Regions from separate parts of the Homo sapiens genome. Here region 2 is linked to region 1. Evidence: promoter capture Hi-C in human tissues and cell types (Jung and others, 2019). All regions are on one chromosome and are shown on one strand. Each heading gives the region's core, a stretch centred on a gene start or on the middle of the fragment in contact. The rest is flanking DNA. Distances are from core to core; before and after follow the strand shown.

Region 1 (4,655 bases), core at 1,034-3,533:
TGCTCTGATGCTTCCTGGCAAACAGTAGGCCATATATGTATATGAATGTGAATGAATTAATGCCTTCAACAAATATTTCTGACAGTGATTTCATGACTGCTTTTATTAGTTATTTTGGCAATCACTTATAACTGCTAACGTCTGCTTGCCGATCAGCCCTTAGCTTAAATGTCACTTCCTTCAGGACGCCTTCCTGATCCCCTCCACTAGGTTAGGTGCTCCTGATCTCTGCTCCCTTTCATACAACTCTTATGACTGATAAAAACAGCACGAGGGGGCCAGGCGCGGTGGCTCACGCCTGTAATCCCAGCACTTTGGGAGGCCGAGACGGGCGGATCACGAGGTCAGCAGATGAGACCATCCTGGCTAACACGGTGAAACCCCGTCTCTACTAAAAATACAAAAAAAATTAGCCGGGTGTGGTGGCGGGCGCCTGTAGTCCCAGCTACTCCGGAGGCTGAGGCAGGAGAATGGCGTGAACCGGGGAGGCGGAGCTTGCAGTGAGCCGAGATCGCGCCACTGCACTCCAGCTTGGGCGACAGAGCGAGACTCCGTCTCAAAACAAAACAAACAAAACAAACAAACAAAAAAACGGCATGAGGGAAATTTCCATGTTTATTGTGTTCATCTTTGTATGCCTAATTCCAAACTTTCCAAGCTCGGCACCCAGCACACAGTAGGTTCTTAATATTTGTTGAGTGAATGAATAAATGAAGTAAATTGGAAATGTAATTTGTCTTTGTCTAAAGGCAAGAACTCATTCAATATAACCTAGTCACTTGTCTTGACCTTCACCTCTTTTTTTCTTTAACAACCTTATTGAGGGAAAATTTACATACCATAAGATTCACCCATTAAGCTCCTCTTACTAATTTTTTTCTCTCTCATTTTTGTGTGTGAAGGTCATTTTCTAATGGCAAAAATGGAAAGAAAATAGAAGTAGAATGTTGTGGAATCTTAGATAAAGAATGGGCTCTTGGAGCCCAGTTTAGCAGGGTTTACTTCTCAGTTTTACTTTTCAATTGTGACCGTAAGCAAATTAACTTCTCTAGGCCTGGGATTCTGATCTGTAAAATTGCACTAATATGAGTCTCTTCACGGCTCCTCTAAGGATTAAATGAGAGACACATGCAAAGGATCCCCAAAAACAATAACTCAAAAAATGTTGATTCCCTCCCTTCCCTCTGTCATCTGTTAACCTCAACTTCCTAAATAGAAGGTCTATTCTTTTACCATCATCATTATTCTCTTCGGTGCCTATTTTTAAAAAATACTCAACCTTCTTGCTTCCTTCGCTACCTAAGTATTTCTGCAAGCCCACTTTGTTCTGCAGCTTAGCTTTCCTGGCACAATTCTTATAGATTTTGGTCCCTTTTAAAATTCATTCTTCAGCAAATGCTTTCTCTCTCCATCTTTTGACTAGAGATCATTAGAGATCACCTGAGATCATTAGAGAACAGTGGTTTCCTTGGTTGCCATTCCCTTTCTTCTTCATTGGGAGTATTCTGCGGTGAACTCAGACATTTTATTTTTCAAAGCTTCCCATTCTTTTAAAAATGCTTTTCCTTTTACAGCCTCTCGCTCAAAATCATACCCATCTTTTCCCTGGATCTGTTTTCTCAAGTCTCCAATCGCCTGCCTTCTTTGTGTCTTGTATTACCCTCACATCCCCCAGCTTTCTACTGCTCTCCCAGGACCAACCATTTCTTCCGCGGGAGTCACATTACATCAGCATTCCTAATGCAGTATCTGTTATCTACCAGATTCTGTTTTATTCTAGGTAGTCACTTAAAAACGAACCTCGGTACTGGTCTGACTTAACATGGAGGAGGAATTGTCTAAGGTTAAACGCAAACTGCTGAGAGATTTGGGGCGGGGGGCACACATTTACATTCATTCGTATTAAATATATACCTGTTGAATTTGTGCTTTTTCTCAAATGCTTCAGAGACTCGAGCTTTAGAGTAATTGGGATGGTGAAAGGATGGGTTTCCAGAAACTTCGCCCAAAATTAAAGACTCCATCAAAAGGACTGCTCCATACACTCAAGGAACACCCACCAACAAATCCCGTCTCCACAACCACCAGATTATCTCACCGGCGAGTGAGACTGCAAGGTTTGGGGGCCCGGCCGTACCACTCCGCGCTGCGCACGGGGGGTTCGTACCCATCTGGCCGCGACCGTCCGTTTCCCCCTCGCTTGGTTCTGCCCCTGCTCCCCCTGCACAGGCCTCACAGTGCGTCTGGCCGGCGCTTTATAGCTGCAGCCTGGGCGGCTCCGCTAGCTGTTTTTCGTCTTCCCTAGGCTATTTCTGCCGGGCGCTCCGCGAAGATGCAGCTCAAGCCGATGGAGATCAACCCCGAGGTGAGCGCCAGGTGCACCGCTACCCGGAGAGCGCGAGGCCGAGGGAGGGGGAGCCGAGTCGCTGATCGGTTCGGTTTTGCCTTTTTCTTTGCATTTGCCTTTCAGATGCTGAACAAAGTGAGTGGCGTCTCGCGCCGTCTCTGGCCCCCTCCCCCGCGAGCGCCGAGGCGGGGGCGCCCACCGGTTCCGGCTGCTGGCAGGGACCAAGCCGCCCGCTGCGAGCACCGGAGACGGCCGGGCTGGGGCGTGGGCTGGGCGCCTTTCCTGGGCCCCTGCATTTAGCGGGTGACTCTACGAAACCGGTCACGGGGAGACGGAGGGGGCTGCGCCCCGTGGCGAGCGAGCGCCAGGCGGAGCTCCCGAGGGCGTGGCGCGGGCAGCACAGACTCGGCTGCACGGGCTTCGCGGGCGCCACGTGTGGGCCGCGCTTTGTGCTGTGTCATTGCGCCGGCCCGGGTGGGGGTGGCAGGGCGGGACTGGGGCTCCTCCCAGGCTCGGGTGCGGGCGCGGAGGGCGCGCGCCTCCTGGCCCCGCCCCCTGGCAGGTGCCCGCGACCCGCGTGTCCCCGTGCGCCTGGCCGCCTTGTCTCCTCTCCGCAGGTGCTGTCCCGGCTGGGGGTCGCCGGCCAGTGGCGCTTCGTGGACGTGCTGGGGCTGGAAGAGGAGTCTCTGGGCTCGGTGCCAGCGCCTGCCTGCGCGCTGCTGCTGCTGTTTCCCCTCACGGCCCAGGTAGGGCGTGGGGCCCAGGATGCGCCGGCCGCCGGCAGTGCACGCCGCTCCCCAGCTTGAGTCCTCGGGGGCTCCCCGCCCCGCCCCCTCCCCTGTAGGTGATGCGGGGCGCGCCTACAAGGAAGGGAGGAGCCTGCATTTTCGTGGTACCTACTCCCTGGGCTCCTGTTCCAGCGGTGCCTGTCGCCTTCTTGCCCATCCGTCCACAATTGCCTTAAATTTGGAAGAGAGGCAGTATCTCAGTTCCATCTATCCCGTTATCCAGGGAAATCATTCATCCTACTCATGAGTTCCCTCGAACTTGGGCTTTTTCGAGCCTCCGGTTCCGGGGAATGGCTGCTGGTTTCCCTTTAAGGGCTATAACCTGTCAACTCATTGTTTGCTTCTCAGACTCCCACCTAGCTGTAGAATGGAGGGGGAAGGGCTGACCTAAATCGCAGGGAAACAATTAGGTTCGCTAATTCTCCGCCTCCATTACTTGGGTTTCTGATGGTCTTAAGGGGTTCTTCTCTCTTCTCCACTCCCACCACTTGCACACTTGGTTTTTAGCCTCTTGAATGTATTTCTTAAAGCTTAATCATTTTGTGTATGGTTTCTGTGTGGGAACCTCCTTCCTCTTCACTTATCCTTGTTCATCTCTGACCTTGTAGCTAACTGAAATAGGGGGTTATTAGCTCAGTTTTGAAAGCACCTTTGCATTTCCCTTGAAATGATTTTCCTCCTACAAGTGTGCATGGATAGATGTATCTGAAAGACAGCGTCAGATTTTTTTTTTTAAAGGATAGCTAGGATATTTGCAGTCTTGTGATGTATGGAATCCCAGTCATTAGCGCATGGCATTGTCTTATCTCCTATTGCTGTCACTTGACCGCTGATGTGGGAGTGACTGAAATTAGCTTTAGCAAAACTTGGGGCATCACTCTAAAGAGTGAGGTTAACTGAAGCACCGTCCTAAGGCTAGGTGTTCTGGAAGCATCTGTAGCCAAAATCAAGAGTATGGGAAGTTCCAAGCCTTCCTCCTAGTAAGTAAGCTAAGTATTGTGGGTAAAAACACTTATTTACAGCTAATAAGATGATCTCACTGACATGTTTTTATTGCTAAAGTCTTTTACTTGGGCTAAAAGGAAGATGCCAAATTGTTGGAAGTCGAATTAGCTTCCTGGTTGACCAAATCAGTCTCCTGTCTCCAGTTGAGCATCACACAGAGGTTTTTTATTAGAGCAACCATGATGACTCGGAGGTTTTGAGCAGCATTCAGAGGCAAGGCCTCTGGGAGGCAGTGGTGCAGCATGTTTGCCTTTAAAAGCTGACTGTTCTCCTTTTGCTGAATCTTGTTTAGAGAACATTCTAGTTTGTGTTATGTTTGAAAGAGCTCGATACTTTGTCCTTTAGTTTCAATTCAACCTATCAGATTTATCGAGCGCCTATTCTGCTACACAGAATGCCTACTGGACAAAACACTGAAGCCGATTGAAAGAAAAGTTGAGGTTTTATAGGTTGACTCCAAAGATGCTAATGTTAATTTGGAAGGCATTTAATTTTTGACTAAGGGAATGTTATGA
Region 2 (4,655 bases), core at 668-3,167, 1.3 Mb after region 1:
AGAATGCATAATTGGCATAGACATACTTAGCAACTGGCAGGATCCCCACATTGGCTCCCTGACTGGTAGGGTGAGGGCTATTACGGTGGGAAAGGCCAAATGGAAGCCATGAGAGCTGCCTCTCCCTAGAAAAATAGTAAATCAAAAACAATATCACATCCCTGGAGGGATTACAGAGATTAGTGCCACCATCAAGGACTTGAAAGACGCAGGGGTGGTGATTCCCACCACATCCCCATTCAACTCTCCCATCTGGCCTGTGCAGAAGACACATGGATCTTGGGGAATGACAGTGGATTATCAGAAGTTTAACCAAGTGGTGACTCCAATTGTAGCTGCTGTACCAGATGTGGTTTCATTGCTTGAGCATATTAACACATCTCCTGGTATCTGGTATGCAACCACCGACTTGGCAAATTCCTTTTTCTCCACTCCTGCCTATAAGGCCCACCAAGCAATTTGCCTTCAACATACCTTTACTGTCCTACCCCAGGGGCATATCAACTCTCCTGCTTTGTGTCATGATCTTATTCAGTGAGACCTTGATTGCTTTTCACTTCCACAAGATATCACACTGGTCCATCACACTGATGACATTATGCTGATTGGATCCAGTGAGCAAGAAGTAGCAAACACACTGGACTTATTGGTGAGATATTTGTGTGCCAGAGGATGGGAAATAAACCTGACTAAAATTAAGGGACCTTCTACCCCAGTAAAATTTCTAGGGGTCCAGTGGTGTGGGGGCTGTTGAGATATTCCTTCTAAGGTGAAGGATAAGTTGTTGCATTTGGCCCCTCCTACAATGAGAGGCACAATGCCTAGTGGGCTTATGTGGATTTTGGAGGCATCACATTCCTTATCTAGGTGTGTTACTCTGGCCCATTTATCAAGTGACCCTAAAGGCCACTGGACCCCAGTTTTGAGTGGGGTCCAGAACGGACACAGGTCCAGGCTGCTGTACAAGCTGCTCTGCCACTTGGTCCATATGACCTAGCAGATTCAATGGTATTTGAGGTGTCAGTGGCAGACGGGGATGCTGTTTGGAGCCTTTGGCAGGCCCCCATAGGTGAATCACAGTGGAGGCATCTAGGATTTTGGAGCAAGGCCCTGCCATAATCTGCAGGTAACTACTCTCCTTTTGAGAGACAGCTCTTGGCTTGTTACTGGGCTTTGGTGGAAACTGAACATTTGACCATGGGTCATCAAGTCACGATGCGACCTGAACTGCGTATCATGAACTGGGTACTTTCTGACCCATCTAGCCATCAAGTGGGTCATGCACCAGCAGCACTGCATCATCAAATTGAAGTGGTATATACGTGATCAGGCTTGAGCAGGTCCTGAAGGCACAAGTAAGTTATGTGAGGAAGTGCCTCAAATGCCCATGGTCTCCACTCCTACCACTGTGCCTTCTCTTCCCCAGCCTGCACCGATGGCCTCATGGGGAGTTCCCTATGATCCAGTTGACAGAGGAAGAGAAGACTAGGGCCTGGTTCACAGATGGTTCTGCACGATATGCAGGCACTACCCGAAAGTAGACAGCTGAAGCACGACAGCCCCTTTCTAGGACATCCCTGAGGGACAGTGGTGAGGTGAAATCTTCCCGGTGGGCAGCACTTCAAGCAGTGCAGCTGGTTGTGCACTTTGCATGGAAAGAGAAATGGCCAGATGTGTGATTATATACTGATTCATGGGCTGTAGCCAATGGTTTGGCTGGATGGTCAGGGACTTGGAAGAAGCATGACTGGAAAATTGGTGACAAAGAAATCTGGGGAAGAAGTATGTGGATGGACCTCTGAGTGGTCAAAAACCGTGAAGATATTTGTATCCCATGTGAGTGCTCACCAACGGGTAATCTCAGCAGAGGAGGAGTTTAATAATCAAGTGGATAGGATGAACTGTTCTGTGGACACCACTCAGCCTCTTTCCCCAGCCACCCCTGTCATTACCCAATGGGCCCATGAACAAAGTGGCCATGGTGGCAAGGATGGAGGTTACGCATGGGCTCAGCAACATGGACTTCTACTCACCAAGGATGACCTGGCTATGGCCACTGCTGAGTGCCCAATTTGCCAGCCGCAGAGACCAGCACTGAGCCCTTGATATGGCACCATTCCTTGGGGTGATCAGCCAGCCACCTGGTGGCAGATTTTTGCATCATGAAAAGGGCAGAGGTTTATCCTCACTGGAACAGACACTTACTCTGGATATGGGTTTGCCTATCCTGCACGCAGTGCTTCTGCCAAGACTACCATCTGTGGACTCAAGATCTTCCACACAGTACTGCCTCTGACCAAGGCACTTACTAAAGAAGTGTGGCAGTGGGCTCATGCATCCACTGTCACAGTATTCCACACAGCACTGCCTCTGGCCAAGGCACTCACTTTATGGCTAAAGACGTGTGGCAGTGGGCTCACTGGTCTTACCATGGAACTCACTGGTCTTACCATGTTCCCATCATCCTGAAGCAGCTAGATTGATAGAAGGGTGGAATGGCCTTTTGAGTTACAATTACAGTGCCAACTAGGTGACAACACTTTGCAGGGCCGGAGCAAAGTTCTCCAGAAGGCCGTGTATGCTCTGAATCAGCATCCAATATATGGTACTGTTTCTCCCATAGCCAGGATTCAGGGGTCCAGGAATCAAGGGGTGGAAGTGGAAGTGGCACCACTCACCATCACTCCTAGTGATCCACTAGCAACATTTTTGCTTCCTGTTCCTGCGACATTATGTTCTGCTGGCCTAGAGGTCTTAGTTCCAGAGGGAGGAACACTGTTATCAGGAGACACAACAATGATTCAATTAAACTGGAAGTTAAGATTGCCACCTGGACACTTTGGGCTCCTCCTACCTTTAAGTCAACAGGCTAAGGGAGTTACAGTGTTGGCTGGGGTGACTGACCCAGACTACCAAGATGAAATCAGTCTACTGCTCCATAACAGAGGTAGGGAAGAGTATGTACGGAATACAGCGAATCCATTAGGGCGACTCTTAGTATTACCATGCCCTGTGATTAAGGTCAATGGGAAACTACAACAGCCCAATCCAGGCAGGACTACAAATGGTCCAGACCCTTCAGGAATGAAGGTTTGGGTCACTCCACCAGGAAAAAAACCACAACCTGCTGAGGTGCTTGCTGAAGGCAAAGGGAAAACAGAATGGGTAGCAGAAGAGGGCAGTCAACAATACCAGTTACGACTACATGACCAGCTGCAGAAACAAAGACTGTAACTGTCATGAGTATTTCCTCACCAATTCCCCAGCTAACATCATATTGAAAAGGGAAAAGCTGAAAGCTTTCCTCCAAGAACTGGAACAAGATGAGGAAGCCCTCTTTCTTCACAGCTATTCAAAATAGTACTGGAAGTCAAGGCCAGAGCAATCAACAAGAGAAAAAAATAAAAGGAATACAAATTGGAAAAGAGGAAGTCAAATTGTTCCTCTTTGCTGATGACATATCTTATATCTGCAAAAAACTGAAGACTCTAACAAAAAACTTAAATTTTAATAAATGAATTCAGTCAAGTTGCAGGATACAAAATCAATGTACAAAAATCAGTAGCACTTCTATATACCAACAATATCTAGATGAGAAAGAAAAAAGCCAATCCCATTTACAACAGTCATAAAAAACATAAAATACCAGGGCCAGGTGCGGTGGCTCACACCTGTAATCCTAGCAGTTTGGGAGGCTGAGGTAGGCATTCAAGACCTGCCTGAGCAACAAGGTGAAACCCCACCTCTACAAAAAACACAAAAAAGTTAGCCAGGTGTGGTGGTGCGTGCTTGCAGTCCCAGTTACTCGGGAGTATGAGGTGGAAGGATCATGTGAGCACAGGAAGTCAAGGCTGCAGTGAGCCATGATCATACCACTGCACTCCAGCCTGGGCAGCAGAGTGAGACCCTGCCTCAAAAAAATACACACACACACAGACACAGACACACAGACACACACACACATAAAATACACGGGAATAAATTTAACCAAGGAGGTGAAAGATCTCTATAAGAAAAACAAAACGCCTGTAATCCCAGCACATTGGGAGCACACTGGGAGGCCGAGGTGGGCTGATCACCTGAGGTCAGGAGTTCAAGACCAGCCTGGCCAACATGGTGAGACCCTGTCTCTACATAAAATACAAAAAATTAACTGGGCATGATGGCGGGTGACTGTAATCCCAGCTACTCAGGAGGCTGAGGCAGGAGAATCGCTTGAACCCAGAAGGTGGAGGTTGTAGTGAGCTGAGATCGTGCCACTGTACTCCAGTCTGGGTGACAAACTCCATCTCAAAAAAAAAATAAATAAATTGAAGGTGACACAAAAAAAATAGAAAACATCCCATGCCCCACTGGATTGGAATAATATAACTAAAATGACCATATTGCCCAAAGCAATCTATAGATTCAATGCAATCCCTATCAAAATACCAATGTTGAAAATGGCAGATAGGAGGCAGGACTAACTTGCAGCTCCTACTCAGATGGATGGAGCAGCGTGGAGACTCATACTGTGAATTGTCAGGCCTCTGAGCCCAAGCTAAGCCATCATATCCCCTGTGACTTGCATGTATACATCCAGATGGCCTGAAGCAACTGAAGATGCACAAAAGTGAAAATAGCCTTAACGGATGACATTCCACTATTGTGATTTG

The links. Contacts are between HindIII fragments. The study calls those that stand out against the background at their distance.
Region 2: a contact is called between a fragment that was not itself captured here and the fragment with the promoter of UCHL1 in region 1, in 1 of the 25 tissues and cell types used here (lymphoblastoid cells).

Annotation. Positions count from the first base shown.
Region 1 is chr4:41,254,645-41,259,299 of GRCh38, forward strand. It overlaps UCHL1 (ubiquitin C-terminal hydrolase L1), which reads left to right and starts at 2,284. Exons shown (of 9, transcript NM_004181.5): 1 at 2,284-2,365; 2 at 2,471-2,482; 3 at 2,965-3,093. The coding sequence starts at 2,333. It overlaps UCHL1-DT (UCHL1 divergent transcript), which reads right to left and starts at 2,083. Exons shown (of 3, transcript NR_102709.1): 1 at 1,915-2,083. RefSeq lists a silencer at 2,400-3,159 and an enhancer at 2,994-3,494. The HindIII fragment of the contact is 4,741 bases long and covers 1-4,295 here.
Region 2 is chr4:42,528,188-42,532,842 of GRCh38, forward strand. All of the region lies in intron 20 of ATP8A1 (ATPase phospholipid transporting 8A1), which reads right to left. Among named protein-coding and RNA genes, the nearest start is that of ATP8A1, 130 kb to the right of the region's middle. The HindIII fragment of the contact is 4,513 bases long and covers 1-4,174 here.